Linked DNA regions of Homo sapiens: regions 1, 2, 3, 4 and 6 are each linked to region 5. The links are contacts of gene promoters, found by promoter capture Hi-C in blood cells and fetal thymus (Javierre and others, 2016). All regions are on one chromosome and are shown on one strand. Each heading gives the region's core, a stretch centred on a gene start or on the middle of the fragment in contact. The rest is flanking DNA. Distances are from core to core; before and after follow the strand shown. Region 1 has its middle 16 kb from the start of AHSG. Region 2 has its middle 9.3 kb from the start of FETUB. Region 3 overlaps DNAJB11 (DnaJ heat shock protein family (Hsp40) member B11). Region 4 overlaps ST6GAL1 (ST6 beta-galactoside alpha-2,6-sialyltransferase 1). Region 5 holds the start of RFC4 (replication factor C subunit 4). Region 6 overlaps ST6GAL1 (ST6 beta-galactoside alpha-2,6-sialyltransferase 1).

Region 1 (4,125 bases), core at 715-3,214, 210 kb before region 5:
CCGGGTGAACACGTGCCAGGGGAGGGCCAGACCAAGGCAGAGCCTTCCCAAGCTGGTTCACAGATTGGCACACACTGAAAACAACATTCTACATTGCACATTTACGCAGGGGACAGGGAGAAAATAATTTTGTTTGGTACAAGTTGTATATGCACCCTCTTCCTTTATATTAAAGATAAATTATTGCATGTGCTGACTATATGATAAAAACATAAGCATAACTATAATTGGCTTTCATTTCCATTTTCTGTTTATTTTAATGAATAATGTTAAACACTTATACATACTAAGAAGATAGGCTACTTACATGGTTATGGGCTTAAAGGCCTCTGGGGAAAAATATATATAATATATTTATAAATAAATATATATTATATATAAAATATAAATATGTAATATAAAATTTATATATAAATATATATAATATAAACATTGTATATTATATAAAATATATATCATATAAACATTGTATATAATATATATAATATAAACATCATATGTTATATATAAATATATATATTATATATACATTTTGACAGAGTCTCACTCTGTCACCCAGGCTGGACTGCAGTGGCACAGTCATGGCTCACTGCAGCCTTGACCTCCCAAGCTCAAGCCATCCACCCATCTCAGCCTCCCAAGTAGCTGGGACCACAGGTGCATGCCACCATGCCTGACTAATTTTCATATTTTTTGTAGAGACGAGGTTGTAAATATCTTTAAATTTTTTTTTTCTAATCGTATGTTGGCAAAATTCTCCCACTTTTGTTTGCTGTATTCCTTTAAAAATTTATTATTATTTTTAAAATACTGTTTATTAATGTTTTTATATAGAGATGTGGATCTCACTATGTTGCCCAGGCTGGTATTGAACTCCTGGGCTGAAGCGATCCTCCCGCCTCGGCCTTCCAAAGGGCTGCGATTACAGGCAGGAGCCACCGTGCTCAGCCTGTTTGCTCTATTATTTTTTAAATTTTTGTTTGTCTCTTTTTGTTTGTTGTGTAGTTATTAATTTTATGAATCTCCTTAAGGTAAATATTAAGGGATTTTTACAATTTAGATAATAAAATATATTAGTTGTTTGCTATAAACAGTGATATTTCAGATTTTTGGCTGACTTGGACTCCTGACAGCTGGCAACAGCCCACTGGCTGGTCTGAGAGTCCCTGTCACAGTCTGAGCTTGAAGGCACAGTTTGCAAAAACCCTCAAGAAGGAAAGCCCAGAACCAGCAAAAAACATCTTTTTTTTTTTTTTTTTTTGAGACGGAGTCTCGCTCTGTGGCCCAGGCTGGAGTGCAGTGGCGTGATCTCGGCTCACTGCAAGCTCCACCTCCCGGGTTCATGCCATTCTCCTGCCTCAGCCTCCCGTGTAGCTGGGACTACAGGTGCCCGCCACCACGCCTGGCTAATTTTTTTTTGTATTTTTTAGTAGCGACGGGGTTTCACTGTGTTAGCTAGGATGGTCTCGATCTCCTGACCTCCTGATCCGCCCGCCTCGGCCTCCCAAAGTGCTGGGATTACAGGCGTGAGCCACCGCACCCTGCCACAAAGAACATTTTTTAAAATGTTCCTCTATTTGCATGAAAGGGCACTGCCTGCTGTGGAAAGGATGGATCCGGTGCACATTCTATCAACTATGGAGAGTCATGCAGGGAAACAGATTGGTTGCTGTCCAGCTTCCAGGTCATTCTAGTGTCATATTAACTCCCCTTTCCGAGTGCTGCCCGGGGCCTATTCATGCCTACCCCTCCCCATATGACTCAGGGAGGGGCTCTCTGTACTCTTGGCAGCCAGAGAAAAGCCCATGATCTCTGGTGTAGAGATGAAGTGGGCACAATTACATCAAAAGGAGAGAGGGAGAGCTCACTCGTGAAAGCTTTCATTTGGTATAAAGAAACAATCAGGGGGAGAAACGAGATGGGGGTGAAGCTGGAGATATTTCGGATGATAATCTACCTCACTTTCCCTGTGGCTATGTTCTGGGTTTCCAATCAGGCCGAGTGGTTTGAGGATGATGTCATACAGCGCAAGAGGGAGCTGTGGCCACCTGAGAAGCTTCAAGAGTTAGAGGAATTCAAAGAGAGGTTACGGAAGCGGAAGCGGCGGGAGGAGAAGCTCCTTCGCGACGCCCAGCAGAACTCCTGAGGCCTCCAAGTGGGAGTCCTAGCCCCTCCCCTGATGAAATATACATATACTCAGTTCCTTGTTATTCAAAAAAAAAAAAAAAAAAGAGAAAACATCAGGAGCAATTGTAGGTTTCTTCAATGGGAAAAATAAGATTAAAACAATATACTTCATTGCTTAAACATTTATTAAACAGCCACTATGTGCATGAACTTCAGGAGGCACTGGGAAACCAGGGATACCCAGAGCCCAGCTCCTACACAGAGGAGTCCAGCCAGTGCAGGGTGGGGTGCAGGCCGTGCTCCAGCCTGTCCTCCGCAGCAGATCCCTGAGCTCAGACTCCTCCCAACACACAGCTTAAGAAGGTGCCTTCCAATCTATTAGGCATCCTCATCTGGGGTTTGCTGATGATGAGTCTGGTTTTCTTTCTTTCTTTCTTTCTTTCTTTCTTTCTTTCTTTCTTTCTTTCTTTCTTTCTTTCTTTCTTTCTCTTTCTTTCTCTTCCTTCCTTCCTTCCTTTCTTCTTTCTTTTTTCCTTCCTTCCTTCCTTCTCTCCTTCCCTCCTTTCCCTTCCTTCCTTTCTTTTTCCTTCCTTCCTTCCCTCCCTCCCTCGCTCCTTCCCTTCTTTCTTTCTCTTTCTTTCCCTCTCTCTTTCTTTCTTCTTTCTTTTTCAAAACAGAGTTTCACTCTTGTTCTCCAGGCTAAAGTGCAGTGGCGCGATCTCAGCTCACTGCAACCTCCGCCTCCCAGGTTCAAATGATTCTCTTGCCTCAGCCTCCCAAGTAGCTGGGATTACAGGCGTGCGCCACCATGCCTGGGTACTTTTTTGTATTTTTAGTAGAGACGGGGTTTCACCATGTTGGCCAGGCTGGTCTCAAACTCCTGACCTTGAGTGATCTGCCAACCTCAGCCTCCCAAGCTGCTGAGATTACAGGTGTGAGCCACTGTGCCCCAGCCTGGTTTTCTTTTTTTTTTTCTTTTGAGAAAGAGTTTCCCCTTCGTCACCCAAGCTGGAGTGCAATGGCACGATCTCGGCTCACTGCAACCTCTGCCTCCTGTAATCCCAGCTACTTAGGAGGCTGAGGCATGAGAATTGCTCAATTGCTGGGATTCCAGGCACACACCTCCACGCCTGGCTAATTTTTGTATTTTTTGTAGAGATGGGGGTTTCATCATGTTGGCCAGGCTGGTCTCGAACTCCTGACCTTGTCATCTGCCCGTCTTGGCCTCCCAAAGTGCTGGGATTATAGGCATGAGCCACAGCGCCTGCCCTGGTTCTGGTTTTCTCCACTCCTGCAGCATGGTTTTCATCACCTTCTCCCACCTCCCCTTCCTCCTCCTTCACACACATTCTTCTTTGAAAATGTCATCACCACCTCCTCTATGTATGGCACGGAACCAGACCCTGGCCACCGCTGTTTATAGCAAGAGAAGCGGACCATAGTAGAGGAGCTGTGCCAAGCAGGCCCTGTGCTCTCAGGACAGCAGTAAGTTGTAGCTGCTCCAGACCTGACACGTGTGCTCTGAAAGGTGACTTCATTCCTTGTTGATGAATGCATCTGAATGGAAAGTGTTAGAATGATAGGAACTTTAAGTCACACACTTATTTTAGTATTTAACAAAATGCCTCGGCTAAGGAAAAAACTAAACAATTGAGGCAATTGCAAAAAATCAAAGTCTGACAACCTCATGGTTATAGCCCTGTTTCCAGAGTAGTAGGCCCCCTGGCTCTGCCCTTGTGCACCCCAAAACAGCCTGGCCTGTAAGTGGAAAAGTACATGTGGCATGTGTGTGTGTGTGTGTGTGTGTGTGTGTGTGTGTTAGAGACACCATCAGAGAGTGGCAGGGCAGAGACAGAACTTAGGCTCGTAGCTGCTGGTGGGTTAGAATTTCTACTTGGGTGGAGCTCAGGTAGCCTGGCCGGTGGTGAGGTGGACTGACATGTCACAAAGTGGCGCTCACATAGCATTTTATGTTCAACTGAGAAAACACCAGTCATT
Region 2 (4,002 bases), core at 616-3,115, 180 kb before region 5:
GTTTACTTAACCATTCTCCTGTTGTTGGACATTTAGATGGACACTTTTTCGTGCTTGTAAATGGCATATCAATAAATATTATTATGCATAAAAGCTTTCCTATATGTGTGAATACTTTCCAAGGTAGAGTCTCAGAAATATAACTAATATTCCAAAATAATATGAATATCTTACGACTCTTGACATGTATTGTCAAAGTGCTTTACAAACAGATTTTGCCAATCTACACTTCCAAAACCTGAGTGTGCCCATCTCACTGAACCTTTGCTATCACTTGGCCTTATCATTTCTCTCCCCTCAAAATACCAACGTATAACTGTCTCAGTTATTAAGAGATAACTTATCATCTCTTCATCACATCTCAATCCATTATACCTTGGTTCATATACACACCAGTGTAGTAAGATTATTCTGGCAAAGGTCATTGTTGACCTTCTTATTGTCAAAACCTTTGACCCAGTAATTTGTTTTTCCTTCTTATGCTATTTGGTCTCTCGCCAATGTTTGATGTTATTGCCTACCTCCTACTTGGAACTCTTTCTGCCTCCATCTCTTCCAGTTACCTCTAAAATATTAGGGTTCCTGAGATTTTCACCTTTATTTTTCTCACTTTATATGCTCCCATTGATAATCTTATCCACTCTTGTAACTTCAGTTTATTCTGTCTAGACTCCATCTCAAAAAAATTTATTTTATTTTATTTTTTGAGAGTCTTGCTCTGTCGCCCAGGCTGGAGTGCAATGGTGTGATCTCGGCTCACTGCAGCCTCTACCTCCCTGGTTCAAGCAATTCTCCTGCCTTAGCCTCCCTAGTAGCTGGAATTACAGGCATGCACCACCACGCCCAGCTAGTTTTTTGTATTTTAGTAGAAATGGGGTTTCACCATGTTGCCCAGGCTGGTCTCCAACTCCTGAGCTCAGCGAATCCACCCACCTCAGCCTCCCAAAATGCTAGGATTACAGGCGTGAACCACCACACCCAGCTTATTTTTTATTTTGAGACAGAGTCTCACTCTGTCGCCCAGGCTGGAGTGCAGTGGTGCCATCTCAGCTCACTGCAACCTCTGTCTCCTGGGTTCAAGCGATTCTCCTGTCTCAGCCTCCCAAGTAGCTTGGATTACAGGTGTGCACCAGCACACCCAGCTAATTTTTGTGGGGTTTTTTGTATTTTTAGTAGAGATGGGGTTTAGCCATGTTGGCCAGGCTGGTCTTCAACTCCTGACCTCAAATGATCTGCCTGCCTTGGCCTCCCAGACTGCTGGGATTACAGGTGTGAACCACTGCTCCTGGCCTTCTATTTATTTTTTTAAAGGTCTTTCCTCAACCTTGTATTCTTCTCTTTAATGTTTGTTTTCCTTCTATTTATAAACAAGATTTTATGAACAATGGTCTATACTTGCTTGTCTCCACTTCCTGAACTCCTATTCATTTTTTTTTTCACAGTAATCTGGCTTCTATCCCCACCACTCCTCTGAAACTGCTACCAACAAAGATCACGGGGGAACTTCTGGATCAAATGGATACATGTTTAGCCCTTTTTTATTCAAGCTCTCCATGGCATCTGACCCTCTGACCACGCCTTTCCTTTTTGAATGCAATCCTTCCTGGTCTATGGAGCCTGTCTTTCTTCTCTGCAGCCTTTCAATCTCAGACTCTTTTTCTTTTAGCTCCTCTTCCTCTGCTTCCTCCTTAAATATTAGTTTTCTCAGAGCTCCACCTCATTCTCATCTCATTGCCTTACCTGCCCTCCCAGAATGAGCTCACCCTCTCCCAAGATTTTAGCCTCCACCTCTGGCTAATGATGATCTTGCTCATCCCCTTTAAACCTTGAGTCCGTATACCCAACACATATTATGAGTCTCCACTTAGAGATCGCTCAGATTCTTCAAATTTAACAGCCTCAAACTCAGGTCCCCATCCCCTCCCCCTTCCAAATCTGCTCTATTCCTGTAATGGTAGCTCAACTCTTTGACTCGGTCAAATAACCTGAAAACTCTGGAGTCATTCTTGATCCCTCACCCTTTCTTGCTGCCATATTTTATGAGTCACCAGGTCTTGATTTCCTACATCCTCATTATATCTCGGATCCAGTCCTTCCTCTCTGTTCCCACTGTCACTTCCATCTTTTCAGCAGTGTCTCCTCTGACAGGATTTTCTCATTCACAACTGTACCACTCAGGGTTCAACCAGGTTTAGCATAACCAGGGAGGTATTATAGGGAACTGGCTTATGCAATTGTGGGGGCTGGATAAACAGTCCCTGTAAGGCTGTCTCTGTATCTGATGCTGGAGCCTGAAGTCCACAGGGCTTATGCAATTGTGGGGGCTGGATAAACAGTCCCTGTAAGCCTGTCTCTGTATCTGATGCTGGAGCCTGAAGTCCGCAGGGCAGGTGTTCAGAAAGAGAAGATGGATATGACGTAGGGGGAATTGACAGCAGATTGGAACCCACAAGCATGAGCTGAGACCCTACAAGGATGGACCGTCACCCACATCTGTTTTTGTTGCCTATGGCCTTGGTGATAAGGGTATCCTGAAGAAGCTGGGGCCTTTCATCGCTGCTACCTGGAATGATCTTTCTGAGAATCTAGTTCTTAAAACCTTCAGTGATTCCCCAGTACTTTTAGTATGCTATGCAAATCATTACAGCACAGAAGACTCTCAGGCTTTTGCCTCACTACTATTCCACGCTTAATCTTGTCATTCCCTCGCCATGCCTCTTCTCACCTCTTCCCTTCCACTTTCTAGCTCTCTCTCTCACACACACACACACACACACACACACACACACACACACACGTGCACACACACATAATATCAAGCTATAAAGAATTACAGTAGAAAAAAATTTACCCATAATATTTGGGGCCTGGTTTACTCAAAATTAACTATCTTAACTCCAGAAAAAAGAACACTTGAACAATTATGTTGTTACCTGCTAAAACATATAGAAGGCAATAATTGTCACAAATTTTACATTACAAGCCAGATATCTCAAATATCATGCGAGATTTCATATCAAAGAGTGTTGCCATGTTCTCATCAGGGAGGCTGTCCTCCCTGTTGTCACTGACCAGTCCTTGGCAGCCCTGTGGTGTCTGTTATCTTACACTCGAGCAAAGGATTCTTCAATTGTTACAATGCAGAGGATTGAAAACTAGGCACTTATTTATTCATTTATTTATTTATTATCTTTTTGAGACAAGGTCTCGCTCTGTCACCAGGCTGGAGTGCAGTGGCACAATCACGGCCCACTGCAGCTTTGACATCCTGTGCTCAAGTGATACTCCTGCCTCAGCCTCCCGAGTAGCTGGGTCTACAGGTGCATGCCATCATGCCTGGCCAATTTTTAAAAATTTTTTAAGAGATGGGGTCTTGCTATTTTGCCCAGGCTGACCTAGAACTCCTGGGTTAAAACAATCCTCCCAACTCAGCCCCACAAATTGCTGGGATTACAAGCATGAGCCACTGTGCCAGCTAGCTTTTTAATTTTTTATCCCCAACAACTAGCATAGTGCCTATCACAGAGCAGTTACTTCACTCACTGGAGAAGAACTTACGACATTACTTGAATGAAGGAACTTTCTTCTTACCCCCTAAACTCCTGATCCACCAGTCCATGGAGGAGCCCAGAAAGTCAAGCTTCACAGCCTCTCTCTGCCTTTTTTTAATTTATTTTATTTTATTTTATTTTATGTTATTTTTGAGATGGACTCCCACTCTGTTGCCCAGGCTGGAAGGCAGTGGCATGATCTTGGTTCACTGCAATCTCCGCCTTGCAGGTTCAAGCTATTCTCCTGCCTCCGCCTACCAAGTAGCTGGGACTATAGGCACGCGCCACCACACACGGCTAATTTTTGTATTTTTAGTAGGGATGTGGTTTCACCATATTGGCCAGACTAGTCTCAAACTCCTGACCTCATGATCTGCCCACCTTGGCCTCCCAAAGTGCTGGGATTACAGGCGTAAGCCACCTCTCCTGGCCTCTCTACTCTTTCAAGATA
Region 3 (4,200 bases), core at 935-3,434, 230 kb before region 5:
CAGAAATTCTTTTTTATTTTTTTTTGAGACAGAGTCTCGCTCTGTCTGCCAAGCTGGAGTAGAGTGGCACGATCTCGGCTCACTGCAAGCTCCGCCTCCTGGGTTTTACGCCATTCTCCTGCCTCAGCCTCCTGAGTAGCTGGGACTACAGCTGTGCACCACCATGCCCAGCTAATTTTTTGTATTTTTAGTAGAGACAGGGTTTCACTGTGTTACCCAGGATGGTCTCGATCTCCTGACCTCATGATCCACCCGCCTCGGCTTCCCAAAGTGCTGGGATTACAGGCATGAGCCACCGTGCCTGGCCAAGGGACAGAAATTCTTAACCTGAGGCACATCAATAAACTTGGGAAGGTTAATGGCCCATCCTAAATTATATGTAATATTTTGTTTCTTGTTGATAATATGCATTCTATATTTTGCACTGTATTTTCCATGAATAGTCCCCTTGTTTGCTAGGAACCTAATACTCAAAAACATTTTCTAGGGAAGCTGAATTTACCATGCTCTCTAAAGAATCTTCACGTTCTTTATCAATGACCTAGGCAGGCTATACAAAGGTCAGTCATGAAATCGTGGCTTATTTAACTATAACAATCCTTTTAGCCACTAGTTCAAATTTCTGTTTTCTTTTTATCATTCAAGCTTGATTGCCTTTAGTCTTAGGTAAATTAGTGTTCACAAATTAGAATCCGAGTACAGTTATGAAGAATCTTTTGTGAATACAAATTTGTTTTCTCTACAGAGCTAGGATCACTGCTGGCATTTTAATTACTTGAGAATCTGTGTATTGGTTGGCCAATCAACTAAAAACCTTTTTTCTTTTAAAATAGTTTCCAAGACCATAGAATAAAATTGCATTCCTTGATGGAAGAAAAGTGAGGAGGAAGTAAATGATAATGACTTCAAGAGTAGTTTTTAGGGGGTTATTACAGAAGCCTCTGATGTCTAAAAAGAAACTGACTTAAAACTAGTCTTTGGGGGTTTTGAAATGGTGTTTTTTATAGTCTCAAATGCAGGGTTCATTTATTTGTGAAGATCAGATCAGAGAAGTAGACTAAAAGTGAAAATATTGGAGATCCAGTTAATAATAAGGGTTTTTTTTTTTTTCAAGTTAATTGTGCCCATTTCTGCTTCCCCAAAGTACCTATTTTCTAAAGATACTTGTGAAAACATGCTTTCCTCTCCCTTTTTCTTTCATAGTGGCTGTAATCAAGTACTGTGGTCACTTCTGGAATAACCCATTTGCCTTTGCTTTTAAGAATGTTCACTCTCTTGTATACTCAATTTCTATTTATCCTTTCAAGGATATCTTAAATGTTAATACATTTTTGCCATGACTCCTTACACCTCATTTGGGCCCTAAGCCAAAAATGTGTCCTGTGTGAATATGCCTTTCTTTTAAGTCAACAAGCCCCGTCTACTTTGAACCTCTCTTTTTCTGGGCCACCATGAGTGTGGTTTTGAAATAACTCTCTCCTTCAGACTCTTGTCTAAGTAGGAGTTTATAAATATCAAAGGAAGATTTTAAAGCCATTTAATTTTCACAAGTATATATGTGCATATATATCAGATTGCTCTAAATAAAAGAGAAAGTTTTTTTTTGCATGTTGAAGGCAAATTTTGAAAAGGATGGAAGCTTATTTTGTTGTTACATTCTTTAATATACAGAGAGAAAGCATATAGTCATGATTGTGTATGTAGTTCTCTGAAACTTAAAACTTCAAGAATTATTTCAAGCAATGAAATTGACCTTGAATAACCTTCATAGAGTATTTTTACTTACTACTCTTTCTGCATTTCAAACTCAGGACATTACAAACTTAAACATATATATATATGGCAGGCAAAATTCTTCCACAAATGGATTTCTGCATATACCAAAAAATGAAAAAAGGAGGATGAAAAGATATCAGTGTAGGCCTCTCTGGAGGGCCTGTCATTTGATTTCCTTGACTTGACAATCTCCTAATACATGCGCGCGCGCGCGCGTGTGTGTGTGTGTGTGTGTGTGTCTGTGTGTGTGTGTTTTGGGTAGGGGGTGTTATAGACCTGTGGGGCCAAGTTGTTCTGAAGGCAGTATAGTGGTTAACAGCATAAGCACCAAAGTCAAACTGCATGGGAAGTAAACCTGAGGAATCCGTCTTAACTCTTTCCTGTCACCACCCTGACCTTCACAGCTGCATTGCTAATCTCAGGTATTATTTTTTAGTGACTACACGAGTTTTGAGAACTTTAAATTAAAAACATGAATGGAGCAATGTGGAATGAACAGTGCATCAAAGAATTTAGTCTTAGAGAAAATAACTTTGTAAATATGCCTTAATACAGTACATAATGGAAACTGCATTCTATTAAAATTTTAGACCCACTGTCAAAGTAAAAACAAACATAAATATGACTGTGCCTTAACTGGATATTACCAACTCATGATCTTTTCCTCCACTGGCTTTTATCCCCAGGTTCTGTCAGATAGTGAGAAACGGAAACAGTACGATACTTATGGTGAAGAAGGATTAAAAGATGGTCATCAGAGCTCCCATGGAGACATTTTTTCACAGTGAGTAATTTACCCATCTGCAAAGTGTTAGTGTCTGAGAGAGGGTCACTTAGCGATTAAAGAATTATTCTCATTCCCTAGTTCAGAAACTTTTGATGAACAGTACAATTTAGCTGATCCAAAGATCAATTATTGTCCTCCCTGTGGGAAGATAGTCTTCTATTTTCACAAAGCTTCAGGAAAGACTGATGGCACTGAAAGGACATTCCATCTAGCCAACCATATCAGTTAAATCAGTGCAGACAATTCACGGGGACATGTGTTGGAAATCAGTTCATCCTTGCCTACTTGCTACCTTGCAATCTGCAAACCACTTAATGAGCAAAATTATTGTTAGCAGAGATAGAAAAATTCCTGCTCCCATACCCAGAGCTGCCTCTCTTTCGTGCTATCAACAAGTGAGGGTGATTATAATAACCAGCATTAGGGGAAGGAATTAGGGTAGAGGACCTTTATCTCTTGCTTTCTGGGAGTGCTGGGTGGTTGGAATAATAAACACTTTCTTCCTCACTCTTTGAACCTCTCTTTATTGAGCATTTGAATTTCCACATTCCCTGATGATTACATATACTAAGAGACTTTAATCTGGGGTTTCAGGTCTGAAATTATAAACAAAAAGATGTTCGAATCTGCATTTTTATGGGGAGAGTTCATTGTTTTCTTCAGATTCTCAAAGGGTTCTGTGAACCCTTCCCCAAAAGAAGTAAGAATCACTGTTGCATATAGTAGTTACCACCATTTAGTGCTTGGTTGAGGGGCCTGGGGTGGGGGAGTAGATTTTTAGGGTCTGTAAAGATGTGTGAGTAACATGATTAGGACATCTTTTCCCCCCGCCAGGATCAATTTGGCTGGCTGAAGTGATCCCTAGGGAATACCAGAAAGAGAAACAGCTTCCCCAGCCCCCACCCTGTTCTTTCCCCTTGCCTTTATTTAAGATTCAGGGAATTCATTCACCTGAGTTGGTTGGTGGGAGAGGGAGTTATATAGTTATCATCTTCGCTATGCTAATATACAAGGCTTCTTAATAACACCAAAAATTAACATTAGATTAAACCACCTGTAGGATTGAAGGTCACCTTTTTTGTTAATCTCAAGTTACTCTTGTTACTTACAAAAATTAGTTTGGGTCTTATAGAGGCTAGAACTTCCTTCTCCTTAAGCACTAGGATTTTACTAAGGCTGATGCTTTTTTAGCTTATTTAATTACATACTCAAGATTTTTGTGTAGAGCAGTAGCTTCTTTCAACAAGTTAGCTTCTAAAAAGCATGTAAAGAGAACACTACATATGTTAAAATTACCGATAAAAATTTCTTAAATTAACCATTACATTTAGCATTACACAAGTTTATGTATACTATACTCTTTCTCAATAAGTCCACCATATTCAGATTTTTCCCAATATTGAAAGATTATTATTTCATTGGTTGGGTCCAACATTGAATTCATTGGCATACTGTGTGTGTATGTACTGTACTATATGTATGGGCTATATTTTGTTAAAAAGTGGATTTTTTTGTAGTAAGGGACCGTATAGTTACAACATGGTTGATAGTATATAAATTTAAAATTATGTATGATAGTTGACTCCATTGTATTAAAAAATACCTTGTAGTTTTGCACAATGCATTGATAGAAACAA
Region 4 (4,121 bases), core at 295-2,794, 230 kb after region 5:
GGTGTGAGCCACCGTGCCCAGCTGCAACACTGGATTTATTTTTACAGGGAAGTTGATTTTCATTAACTTTAATATATTTCTAAGAGGCAGAGCTACTCACACAGTTGTGTGTGGTCTGGGGCGGTAGTAAATTCCCTGTCATTCAGTGTATCCAACAGGCAAAATGAACATTTGCAATGATGGTGCCGTCAAGGTGATTCTGGCAACTGAAGGTGATGGGTGGGTAGGTGGGAGGGAGTGGCTGTAGCAATTGAAGGCAGTGGGCAGTGGGGAGGGATGGTGTCAGGAGCTAGCTTCATTCTTGCATTCAGACATGACTGAACATTTCCTAGTTGTGGCCCAGGAGCTCTCAATCTGGTTGGGACAGATCTGCAAACAGATAAATGTCACATAGTTTGATGAGGGGAAGAATAGGCACCATGGAGTTATGCTGATCATCTCTGTGAGGCCAAGGAAGCTTGAGAGTCAAGGAGCACTTGAGCTGGTGTTGGAAGCTGAGTGGGCATGGCCCCATGGGAACAGCACAGGAAACCACACTTTGCTGAAGAACTTCTTGTGCAGAGCTGCAAAGGCATGAAAGAGTCTTCGACATTTAGAGTGCCATTCTACTTAATCTGGGCAAATTATTTATCTTCCCTGTCTCAGTTTCCCTGTTTGTAAAAATGGGGGTAGTAATGGTATCCACAGAGGAAGGGATGGTGACTGTTGTAATCCCTTTGAGTGGATTATCTTTTTTTTTTTTTGAGATGGAGTCTCGCTCTGTTGCCCAGGCTGCAGTGCAGTGGTGTGATCTCGGCTCACTGCAACCTCCACCTCCCGGGTTCAAGTGATTCTCCTACATCAGCCTCCCGAGTAACTAAGATTACAGACACACGTCACCACGCCCCGCTAGTTTTGTATTTTTAGTAGAGACGGGTTTTCACCATGTTGGTCAGGCTGGTCACGGGCTTCTGACTTCAAGTCATCCACCTGCCTCAGCCTCCCAAGGTGCTGGGATTACAGGCATGAGCCACAGTACCTGGCCGAGTGGATTATTTTACTTGATTCTGTAAATCACACTATGAGGTAGGACTTGTTATTATTACTATTTCTATTTTATAGATAAAGATGTCTTAAATCTTGGGTCTTAAGGGGTTGAGTAACTTGCTCAAAGTCAGGTAGCTGGTGAAAGGCAGTTTGGGCTCTTGTCTTGATAAATCTGATTCCAAAGCTTGTATTGTTCATCCCTAAGCTATAGTCAGTGCTTGGCACATAGCTAGTGCTAAATAAATGGTAGCTATTATTGCCAGGATTGCTAAAGTTTCTCACCCAGAGAGTTGAGGGTTCTGTTATCACTTCTACAGCTGGTTGAAGATCAGTAGTGCTGCTATCTCATCAGCAGCAGGGACTATTTTTGGAAAGCCCTCATCACCTATGATAAATCTAGATAGTTGCACCACTTTTGTTTCAATTGGTTGATTTTTGAAAATCAAAAATGGAGAGTGATTTTTATCTTCTTAGAGGGCAAGGTTTTTTGAGCAGATGCAGTTGATGTAAGGGAGGAAGAGCTGGGATTGATGTACTTTTCTGTTGTCTGTGGGCTGTATCAAACAAAAAGTTTCATGTTCTGGCTGCCAGCTGGAGGATGGCAGCAAACCAGCATTCACAGGCAAGAGGTATCATCCAAAAGTCTGGTGACTGCCCACAGTGTTTTCTACAGGGGGCTAAGAAAGAGCCTCTTCCATGAGTGATGCCAGGAGTAAGAGCTGTGAACCCGTCACCCATTTATTCATTCAACAAATGCATACTGAGAGCTTATTAAGTGCTAGACATTCATCTAGTGTCTAGAGATACTCCCTGGAAATAATAGAGAAGAAGGTTGACAAGATTCCTATTTATGAAGCTTATATTTTTAGTGGAAGGAGACAGACTAATCAAATACTAAATGAATGCCTGCATAATTACAAACACTCATGCCACAAGGGAAATTCATGCTGTGAAAATGTCAGAGGGATAACTATCAGAGAAATTTTCTGACTCTTCCAAGGATGCTGCCCAGAAAACCGTCCTTCTTTGAGCTGATGAGGAGAGCCCCAAATGTTTTGACACAGGGCAGAGTGGCACCTCTCACTTTTTCCCTGGTAGTCATACCTAGGGTTTGCCTGCCTGCCTTCCTCCTGGTCATGAAGAGCTGGGGTTCTCCCAACCTGAATTCCTAGCCTTCAACAGAGGATTTTCTCTTGGTTCATGGGGTGAAGTCAAGTATGTCCATATGGCTTCCTCTTAGTTCTGTTAATGCTAGATCTCCTAGGACAGGCCTTGCAGCCAGGTTAATATTGTGCACCAAGTTGATACACAAGGTTGAAGTGTATTTTTTAGTATTGCCCCCAAGAGTTTTGCCTTAATTATTCAAGTAACATAATAAAAATAATAAAGGAAGTTGGCTAGGCGTGGGGGCTCACGCCTGTAATCCTAGCACTTTGGGAGGCCGAAGTGGGTAGATCACCTGAGGTCAGGAGTTGAAGACCAGCCTGGCCAACATGGTGAAACCCCATCTCTACTAAAAACAAGTATTAGCTGGGCGTGGTGGCCGGTGCCTATATTACCCAGCTACTGGGGAGGCTGAGGCAGGAGAATCTCATGAACCTCGGGGGTGGAGCTTGCAGTGAGCCAAGATTGCACCACTTCTGCCTGGGCCGACAGAGAGAGACACCATCTCAAAAACAAAGAATAAAATAATAAAGGAATTCAAACTGATAAGAATTAATCTTTCATCAGTTTATCCGTCAATGGTATTCAAGTCTCAACCATTTACATTTTTTCTAGACAGTTGGATATACATATCTTTTAAGTCACCATCTGAGTATACAGGTAACATTTTCTGTTTTGCTTTTTTCATTTTAAGATTTTAAGTATTTTCTCCCCTATTACTATATAAATTCATACACAATTATATAAATTATTTCAGGTGGCTATACCATGCTTTTCTTATTTCCTTATTGCTGGATGCTTAGTTGTTAACAGATTTTCACCTTGATAAATAAGCTCGACATTAAAAATTTTTATTTTTGGCAGTGTTATTAGGAAAGTTTGTAGTGCTTAACATCTACTTCAAAAAGTTAGAAAGATCTCAAATTAACAACCTAATATTGCACCCAGAGGAACTAGAAAAAAAATTTACCCCAAAGCTGGCAGAAAAAGAAAAAAATAACTAAAATCCAGAGCAAAACTGAACAAAATTGAGACTCAAAAATCCATACAAAGAATCAACAGAACCAAAAGTTGGTTCTTTGAAAGGATAAACAAGTTTGGTAAACCATTAGCTAGATTAACAAAGAAGAAAAGAGAGAAGATACAAATAATCACAACCAGAAATGACAAATATGACATTACAACTAATCCCACAGAAATATGAAAGATCTTTGGAGACTATTAATACCTCTGTTCACACAAAGTAGAAAATCTAGAAGAAATGGACAAATTCCTGGAAACTCACAATCTTTCAAGATTGAATCAGGAAGAAATTGAAACCTGAACAGACCAATATCAAGTTCTGAAATTGAGTCAGTAATAAAAAACTTACCACCAAAAAAAGCCCTGGACCAGATAAATTCACAGCCAAATTCTATCAGACATACAAAAAAGAGCTGGTACCAGTCCTACTGAAATTATTCCAAAAAAGTGAGGCAGACAGATCCCTCTCTAACTCATTCTATGAAGCCAGCATTACCCTGATACCAAAACCTGGCAAAGACACAGTAAAAAAAGAAAACCGCAGGCCAATATCCCTGATGAAAATAAATGCAAAAATCCTCAACAAAACACTAGCATACCGAATCCAGCAGCACATCAAAAATTATTTCACTGTGATCAAGTAGGCTTCATTCCTGGGATGGAAGGTTGGTTCTACACAGACACATTAATAAATGTGATTCACCTCATAAACAGAATTAAAAACAAAAGCCATATGATCATCTCAATAGATGCAGAAAAAGATTTTGATAAAATCCAAAATCCTTTCATCAAAAAAGCCTTCAAGAAACTAGGCATCAAAGGCACATACCTCAAAATAATAAGAATCATCTATAACAAATCCACAGCCAATATCATACTGAATGGGTAAAAACTGGAAGCATTCTCCT
Region 5 (4,162 bases), core at 21-2,520:
AGACCTTTTTTTGTTGTTGTTGTTTTTGAGACAGGGTCTCACTCTTTTGCCTAGGATGGAGTGCAGTGGCGGAATCATGGTTCACTGCAGCCTTGACATCCCAGGCTCCTGTCATCTTCCCACTTCAGCCTCCCCAGTAGCTAGGACTACAGGTGCGTGCCACCACCCCCGGCTAATTTTTTAAATTTTTGGTAGAGACAGGGTTTCACCATGTTGCCTAGGCTGGTCTGGAACTCCTGGGCTCAAGTAATCCTCCTGCCCCGGCCTCCCAAAGTGCTGGGATTACAGGTGTGAGCCATCTCGCCTGGCCAGGGACCTATTTTCATGGCAGAGTCAATGCTTACCTACCTTCAGAGACTTTCTGTGGGGAAGGGAAGGTGGGGGACTCTGTTGTTAAAATAGAAACAGCTGTTTTTCTCATAACACACTCACTTGAAGAAATCAAAACAATGCATAAAAGCATGAGAGATTTAAAAAAGTAATACAAAATCCCACCCAGAAGGTAACTATTTCTAACATGCAGGTAAACATTCTTCCAGGCTGTTTTCAGGGATAAAAAGCATCATTAGCTCGCCTGAAAAGTCCCCGGTTAATTCTATTTTTTTCACTGCTACATGCCCTGGTGCCTAGAACAGTGCCTGGTACATGGTAGATGCTCCGTAATATTTGGTGAATGAATTACCATCTATGATACCCGGTTTCCTTTTCTGTTAAAGGAGCTAAGGCCTATTCCACAGGACAACTGAGTTAAATAAAAGAATGTATGCAAATACATAGTTCCTTGCTTGGCATATGGGGATATGCTCAATAAAATAAATTTTTAATATCTGTTAGCAGCCAAGGTTTTTATAACGTTACTGGATTAGTCCATCCCTGCCTCGGGCTGTTAAACATTAATACAGCCCAAAGCCGGGGCCTGCAAGATGCTGTCCGGAACCACCATTTCACCAAAGGGCGCGGCCAGGGCATGAAAGGGCCACTAGGCTGGGGCCCCGAAGGAGGTGGAAGACCTCACAAGGGGCATCAAGGGCAGGAGTGGGGAAGGCGAAGCGGGCTTGCAGTTCCTCCAGCAGGTTACCAGTTAGCCTGGCTTCTCGTGCAGGTCACCGCCGCCGGCTCGTTCCTCAGGTTTCCGCGATACAAAAAGGACGAGATGGTCTCGAAGTCTTAGCTCCGTCACCTAATCTGAGAATAACGGGCCCAGGAGACTTACGATCACTGATGTCCCCACAGTCGCCTCAGTTCCCGCCACGGAACGGCGGGCGAAAAGCAGGGCGGGAATACGCCGGTAGGAATACGCGGGCACGTAACGCGTCACTTCCGGTGCTGGGGCGCGCTGCTTGCGGAGGGAGTTTGCCCGTATACGGTTTTATTTAGGCAGGTGATGAGCCAGCCGGACTTTCAGGCAGAACTGGACTGGAACAGGCATGGCCTAGGAGGTGTCCCTGTCCCGGTGCATTGCTCCCACTTCAGACGTGAGCGCGACCCTCCCGGAAGGAGTAGAGGTCGCGCGGGCACGGCGCTGGGGCTGCTTACCTGGCAGGCTCAGCAATGAGGGCGGGGCGGCGGCGCGCGGGCCTCTGGAACCCTGCCGGTCCACCGAAGGTCCCGAGCCCGCTATCTTCGTAGGTGCGGGCCTCCGGAGGTGCAGGTCCCTGTCCTCCTTGTCCTGCTTCGTCGCAGAGCAGAACGCGTGTGCTTTAAGGGCAGAGACATCTGAAGATGCTTTGCCTTGCCCTCTTGAGGACACGTGGCTTTTACTTCTAATAGTGTCTGCGTGTTGTGGAGAGAGAAGACCATGCAGCTGTGGACATCTATTATAATTCCTGAGCCCCACTTAGAAATCTGGAAGTGAAGGCGTTCAATAAAAGTTAAAGGACTGATAATCATGTTTAGCCCCACCAAGCTTCATGCACAGTGGGCTAGGCTGGTGCCTGAGCCCACTGCTTTTATCTCTTCCAAGTACTTGGTTTAGCTCTGAAATGCTCCTTAATCCTATTGAAACCTGACCCTTCTCAAAGGCCACCTTCTCTACTGGTCTTTACTAATTACTAACCCATAAGGTTGTTCCGGGTCTTCTTCAAATGACTGTTTTGTTTGGCACAAACTCAGCATGATATCCATTGTTAACTTTGTACGTTTTTTTCATTTATCTTGCAACAAATGCTTACAGAATGTCCACGCACTGTGTTAGATGCCTGCAGATACAGCAGGGAAAACGCTCGAGATGCCCTCAAGTAGCTTTACAGACTAGGAGAGTGACAGACAATGTGATGTGTGGTTATGCAGAGGAAGTAGGGGGCTGTGAGAACTTACATCCCAGGCCTAACCCAATCAAGGGTTTAACCAAAGTAAGGATGCTTTATGCTACTTTGTAATTTCCACAGAGTCTGATACAATCTCTGGACAGTATAAAAAACACACAGGTTATCTATCTGGTCACCGGTTTACATTACCATAACTTATCAAACTGTATACTTAATGCTTGTATATTTTATTGTATGTAAATTATACCACAATACAGTTGATAAAACAAGATCTATGAAAATAGATGGTATCCATTTGCTACCTGAAGGAACAGCACAACCACAGAGAGGGGGATGTTATGATCTCATTTAACAGACAAGTTGGGCTGGGCACGGTGGCTCATGCCTGTAATCACAGCACTTTGGGAGGCCGAGGTGGGCGGATCACCTGAGGTCGGGAGTTCAAGACCAGCCTGGCCAACATGGTTAAACTCCATCTCTACAAAAATACAAAAATTAGCCAGGTATGATGGCAGGTGCCTGTAATCCCACCTACTTGGGAGGCTGAGGCAGGAGAATCGCTTGAACACGGTAGGTGGAGGTTGCAGTGAGCTGAGATCACGCCATTGCATTCCAGCCTGGTGACAGAGCGAGACTCCGTCTCAAAAACAAACAAACAAAAAAACAGACAAGCTGATGGATAAGTGGTCTTTGTCCATTTTGGCTGCTATGTTTATAAGCCATAGATTGGGTGGCTTATAAACATCATAAATTTATTTCTCACAGTTTTAGTGGCTGGGAAGTCCAAGATCAAGGCACCATAAGATTCAGTGGCTGGTGAGGGTTCACTCCCTCATTGACAGCTGTCTTACTGCTGTAACCTCACTTGGTGGAAAGGGCTAACTAGTTTTCTCCAGCCATCTCCTTTATGAAGGCATTTCTCCCATTCATGAGGGTTCCACTCTATTGAACCAGTCACCTCCCAAAGGCCCCACCTCCTGATACCATCACCTTGGGAGTTATAATTTCAATAACTATAATTTGGGGGTGTGGGGACAAACATTCAGACTACAACAAAGGTTAATAGCAAGTAAGTGGCAAAGCCATAATCCACATCTTGGACTGACTCCAGACTCAAAGCTTGTGATCAGTCACTGGGCAGGTTCAGGGCTGGCATAGAGGTGCCTTAATGTTAAATAGAAAAGAGAGACCTGAGTGGTATCTTGTTTTGGCAATTGATTTTAAAAAAATGCCACCTTTCTGCAGGTACATTCAGCCCTTGGTGGGATGAAAAACTTGGTGATAAGAGATTGGGCTGGATTTCTATCTCCACTTGCCCCTCAGCTGACTACTCCGTTATTGTACACAATTATAGGCAGCATCCTAATCCAGGTAGTTGAAGAACTTGTGTGCACACCAAGCATTGTCTCTCTCACCAGAACAAGAAATGTCCTTATATAAATACTTATCTTTTTTTGTGTCATACATATGTGGGTGTTCACATGATTAAACCAGTTTAACAAGTTTATAATAGCTTTTATTATTTATTGTAATGGGCATTCATTCAGTTACTACTATGATACTATTATGTGGAGATTTGTAAAGTTTTTTTGTTTTGTTTTATTTCTGTTTTTTCTTTTTTGAGACGGAGTCTCACTCTGTCACCCAGGCTGGAGTGCAATGGCTCAATCTTGGCTCACTGCAACCTCCGCTTCCCAGGTTCAAGTGATTCTCCTGCCTCAGCCTCCCAAGTAGCTGGGACTACAGGTGTGCACCACTGCACCCAGCTAATTTTTGTATTTTTTTTTTTAGAGATGGGGTTTCACCATGTTTGCCAGGCTGGTCTCGAACTCCTGACCTCGTGATTGCCCACCTCGGCATCCACCCACCTTGGCCTCCCAAAGTGCTGGGATTAC
Region 6 (4,204 bases), core at 1,255-3,754, 240 kb after region 5:
TGTCTCCATTATTAGGGACTATTGCCACAACCAGGTCAGAAGTGCCAGGCCTGCCCAGGCTGTGGTAGCAGTGATGAAGAGAAAGGACCTTACCTGAGAGGGCTCATGAAGTAAGAGGCAGAACTTACTATCTAGCTGGAAATGATCTTGAGTGAGAGGCAGGAGCCAGGATGTCTAGCCTGGGAGCAGGCTGTATCTTACCAAGGGGAGCATGCTTCCAGAGGAACGCAGATTCCACTTTGGATGTTCTGAGACTGAAGTGTGTGTGGATTTCCCTGGGTAGATATCTATGCTGTTGAGTACTTAATTCTAGAGAAGGATCAGATATCGAGATAGATTTACAAGTCATTTGTATCAAGGTGAGATAATGGTTATAATCCAGGGAAGAAGACCAATTAGAAAATCTAGAAAAAGATTTACATTTAAAGGACAAAGAAAAGAACAGGGAAAAGTCAGAAGGGTCAGAGACCGGCTAGAGGAGAACTAGGTGTGCACCATACAATGGAAGGCAAAGGGGGATGGAGTTTGAGGGATGTTGGCTGTTGGTATCAAAGTCTGCAGAGGTGGGACATATTCTTGGGCAGAATAAGGACTGAGAAGACACCTGTGAACTGAGTAGCTTGGAGAACATGATCAGTTATATCAGGGGTCAGCAAGCTTTTCTTAAAAGGCCGGATAGTAAATAGTTTTGGCTTTGAGGGCCATGATGTCTGTCACAACTACTCAACTCTGCTGTTGTACTGCAGAAGTAACAATAGATAGTAGTAAATGAACAGGCCTGGCTATGTTCCAACAAAACTTTATTTACAAAATGAGGGATGCACCAGATTTGTCCTTCAAGTCATAGTGTTTTGTTTTGTTTTTGACGGAGTCTTGCTCTGTTGCCCAGGCTGGAGTGCAGTGGCATGATCTCGGCTCACTGCAAGCTCCGCCTCCCAGGTTCATGCCATTCTCCTGCCTCAGCCTCCCGAGTAGCTGGGACTACAGGTGCCTGCCACCACGCCTGGCTAATTTTTTGTATTTTTAGTAGAGACAGGGTTTCACCGTGTTAGCCAGGATGGTCTCGATCTCCTGATCTCATGATCCGCCCACCTCGGCCTCCCAAAGTGCTGGGATTACAGGTGTGAGCCACCGCGCCCGGCCAAGTCATAGTTTTTTTTTTTTTTAACTCTGATCTATAGTATGTCTGTTTTCTTCAACCGGACTCAGAATGTAATTTTCCATAAATGGTTGTAGGATGTATTAGGCTAACTTGAAAATATAAAAGCGTTTGGTGATAAATTGTGATAAAATTTCTTTCATAATAATTTCTAGCTATTTAGAGTTAACTACACCTAGAGGCAGTGGATTTTGATGTATTTATGAATTTACTAACTTGAGCTGATTCTGTTGAATTTTCTAAGCGTGTGATTGTATAATCTGAATACAGTGATGCATTTATTTTTTCTTCTCCTAATTTGCCTCTTTTTCTGAGCTCTAATTCTAAGTTACAGAGAGGTGGTAGTTTCTTTTTTCTGCAGCCTTTCCCCCTCGCTAGGCTTGTTTGCTGGGATCTCAGTAGTTGTGGATTTCTCTTGGTGATTTCTTAGAGGCCTATTTGAGTTTGAAAGTTCAACTTTCAATTAGCAGGGAGGTTTGACAAACAGGATTTTTTTCTCTTTAAGTACCCAAGTCAGTTTAAAGTTTTCTTTTTAAAAATTTGATATATAATAATTGTACATATTTATGGGGTACATGTGATATTTTGGTACATGCATACAATGCGCAATGATCAGATTGGGTAATTAGAATATCCATCTCCTCAAAAAAGTTTTCTCCTTTGATTGGCTTTTTTCTTTTCCTTTCTTTTTTTTTTTTTTGAGACAGAGTCTTGCTCTGTTGCCCAGGCTGGAGTGCAGTGGCGTGATCTTGGCTCACTGCAAGCTCCACCTCCTGGGTTCACACCATTCTCCTACCTCAGCCTCCCGAGTAGCTGGGATTACAGGCGCCTGCCACCATACTCGGCTAATTTTTTTGTATTTTTAGTAGAGACGAGGTTTCACTGTGTTAGCCAGGATGGTCTCGATCTCCTGACCTCGTGATCTGCCCACCTTGGCCTCCCAAAGTGCTGGGATTACAGGTGTGAGCCACCGTGCCCAGCCTGATTGGCTTTTTTCTTAGAATCACGTCCAAACTTCATACCTGGGCCCCCATGTCCGTGTATGATCTGGTTCCTGCCAACCTCTGTAACTGTATCTTTGATTTTTCTTCCCCTCACTCCTTGTCTACAGTCAAGTCCCTGCCCTCATTGTGGTCCTGACACTTGCTGCATCCTCTGACTGGTGGACTTCTCTGAACCCTTCCCAAGGCTGGCCATCCTTTGGGTCTCAGCTCCAAGGCATTCCCTGAATCATCACTCTATGAAGGAAATTCCCTCAGTGTCTCTGGCACACAGCTCAGCTTGTTAGTGTCACAGTGTTTGTCACAATCCGAAATTATCTTATATGTAGGTTGTTGTCCGTCTTTACTGTCTATGTCCGTGCAGTAGAATGTAATATCTCTGAGGGCATGGACCTTGTCTTTGTTGCTCACAGGCGTCGTCTCCCGTGTCTAAAACTGTGCCTGGCATAGAGTAGGTGCTCAATCAGTATTTGTTGACTGAACAAAACAATTCTCCTTTCTTATGGTCAACATCAAGCATCTGTTCTAACCTAAGCCTTCTGTGCTGGATGTTCTCCAGTGGCACCTCCAAATCCCACTCTCACCCTTTTCCATCTGGCTCTGTCCCTGAGAAATTGAATTTTTTTTTTTTTTTTTTTTTTTTTTTTGAGAATGAGTCTTGTTCTGTTGCCCAGGCTGGAGTGCAGTGGCACAATCTCGGCTCACGCTAACCCCCGCCTCCTGGGTTCAAGCGATTCTCCTGCCTCAGCCTCCAGAGTAGCTAGGATTACAGGTGCGTGCCACCACGCCCAGCTAATTTTTGTATATTTAGTAGAGATGGGGTTTCACCATGTTGGTCAGGCTGATGTCGAACTCCTGACTTCAGGTGATCCACCCGCCTCGGCCTCCCAAAGTACTGGGATTACAGGCGTGAGCTACTGCGCCCAGCTGAGAAATTAAAATTTTGAACTGCGTTAATTGGCATTTCTCACTCTCTGGATTTTCTCTGGGACTGGCCAGGAGAAGCAGTGGCATTAAAGCTGAGAAGAAGACTAAGGTCAGGGCACCTATTCCGCCATGTTTCGCCTTGCAGAGTAAACTCAAGCTGTATCTTTCTCTTGACTGAAGGTCTCAGATCCTGCCAGGAGGCCGTCCCAGTCTTGGTCCTGCTCTGTCCCTTTTCCCTTCAGTTCTATGAGATCCAAGGGAAGGGGCAGAACCAGGTTGGGATATTGACTCCCTCAGGCTCCTTCTTGCCCGGAGGTTGGCAATAGCTGTGTTCCTCTCCTAAAGGCAACAGCTCCCGACAGGTGTCCCTCCTCAGCTCAGGGTCTCCGCTCATCAGGCCACAGTAGACCTGGGGTGGTAATGACACCCTGCAGTCATCAACCCTGGGGCTTTAGCCTATTCCGTGTTGATTTCTTTAAACTCTACCCCAACTTGGTAAGTAGTCCTTTTATGAATCTCTCAATTACTCCATTGGAGCTTCTCATCTCTTTTCTACTGGGATTCTCACCAATAATTTATTCATCTGTGAAATGGAAAAGTTGACTAACTGAAGTTTCTGATGGATCTGTGTTTCTCATGCAATTACTACTAATCCCTTTCGAACCAGTGACTGATTCTGACAAAATGTGTTGTAATTCTGAGTTGTGTAAAGATATACCTCCTGCCCTATGTGCACTTCAGTGTACCTGCCCTGTAAGATGATAACAGTTTGGACTGTGCCCTTCTCAGATAATTTTCAAACCATTTTGATGAAATTTTGCCCTAGGATTGAGGATAGGGTTGTGTTGTTTTCATGAATGATGTTTCTGTGTTCCTGAGGTTTAGTACATACATTGGAACTGAAATAAAGAGAGAGGCTTTCATCCTTAATTCTGTGGATATCCTCTTTCTAAATCATCTTGTGTTCAGTCAAATGCCCTCACTTCCCCAAATCCTGTGTGGATAAAGAATGATCCAAAACAAACCTGAATAGGACAATAGAGGATTCAGCTGACCCCCAGATCCCGTGTAGATTTCAGTGGTGAGCCCCAAACTTGCTTGACCGAGTAAGATTGAA

The links. The method cuts DNA at HindIII sites, captures the fragments that hold promoters and counts their contacts. A CHiCAGO score of 5 or more calls a contact.
Region 1: a fragment that was not itself captured here is called in contact with the fragment with the promoter of RFC4 in region 5 in 4 of 17 cell types (naive CD8 T cells, total CD8 T cells, M1 macrophages and 1 more); the score reaches 6.3 in naive CD8 T cells.
Region 2: a fragment that was not itself captured here is called in contact with the fragment with the promoter of RFC4 in region 5 in 1 of 17 cell types (erythroblasts); the score reaches 7.5 in erythroblasts.
Region 3: a contact is called between a fragment that was not itself captured here and the fragment with the promoter of RFC4 in region 5, in 10 of 17 cell types (total CD8 T cells, naive CD4 T cells, non-activated CD4 T cells and 7 more). The highest score is 10.6, in total CD8 T cells.
Region 4: a fragment that was not itself captured here is called in contact with the fragment with the promoter of RFC4 in region 5 in 4 of 17 cell types (naive CD4 T cells, total CD8 T cells, total CD4 T cells and 1 more); the score reaches 6.3 in naive CD4 T cells.
Region 6: a fragment that was not itself captured here is called in contact with the fragment with the promoter of RFC4 in region 5 in 1 of 17 cell types (naive CD8 T cells); the score reaches 5.7 in naive CD8 T cells.

The regions. Positions count from the first base shown.
Region 1 is chr3:186,595,058-186,599,182 of GRCh38, forward strand. It overlaps the pseudogene PET100P1. Among named protein-coding and RNA genes, the nearest start is that of AHSG, 16 kb to the right of the region's middle. RefSeq lists an enhancer at 1,883-2,177. The HindIII fragment of the contact is 179 bases long and covers 1,876-2,054 here.
Region 2 is chr3:186,629,069-186,633,070 of GRCh38, forward strand. No RefSeq gene overlaps it. Among named protein-coding and RNA genes, the nearest start is that of FETUB, 9.3 kb to the right of the region's middle. The HindIII fragment of the contact is 3,546 bases long and covers 93-3,638 here.
Region 3 is chr3:186,573,378-186,577,577 of GRCh38, forward strand. DNAJB11 (DnaJ heat shock protein family (Hsp40) member B11) reads left to right here. Exons shown (of 10, transcript NM_016306.6): 3 at 2,463-2,560. Among named protein-coding and RNA genes, the nearest start is that of DNAJB11, 4.8 kb to the left of the region's middle. The HindIII fragment of the contact is 1,094 bases long and covers 1,638-2,731 here.
Region 4 is chr3:187,030,711-187,034,831 of GRCh38, forward strand. The region is part of intron 2 of ST6GAL1 (ST6 beta-galactoside alpha-2,6-sialyltransferase 1); the gene reads left to right. Among named protein-coding and RNA genes, the nearest start is that of ST6GAL1, 100 kb to the left of the region's middle. The HindIII fragment of the contact is 672 bases long and covers 1,209-1,880 here.
Region 5 is chr3:186,805,212-186,809,373 of GRCh38, forward strand. It overlaps RFC4 (replication factor C subunit 4), which reads right to left and starts at 1,271. Exons shown (of 11, transcript NM_002916.5): 1 at 1,079-1,271. RefSeq lists enhancers at 827-1,438, 1,439-2,050. The HindIII fragment of the contact is 2,364 bases long and covers 1-1,904 here.
Region 6 is chr3:187,046,102-187,050,305 of GRCh38, forward strand. The region is part of intron 4 of ST6GAL1 (ST6 beta-galactoside alpha-2,6-sialyltransferase 1); the gene reads left to right. Among named protein-coding and RNA genes, the nearest start is that of RPL39L, 91 kb to the right of the region's middle. The HindIII fragment of the contact is 3,699 bases long and covers 656-4,204 here.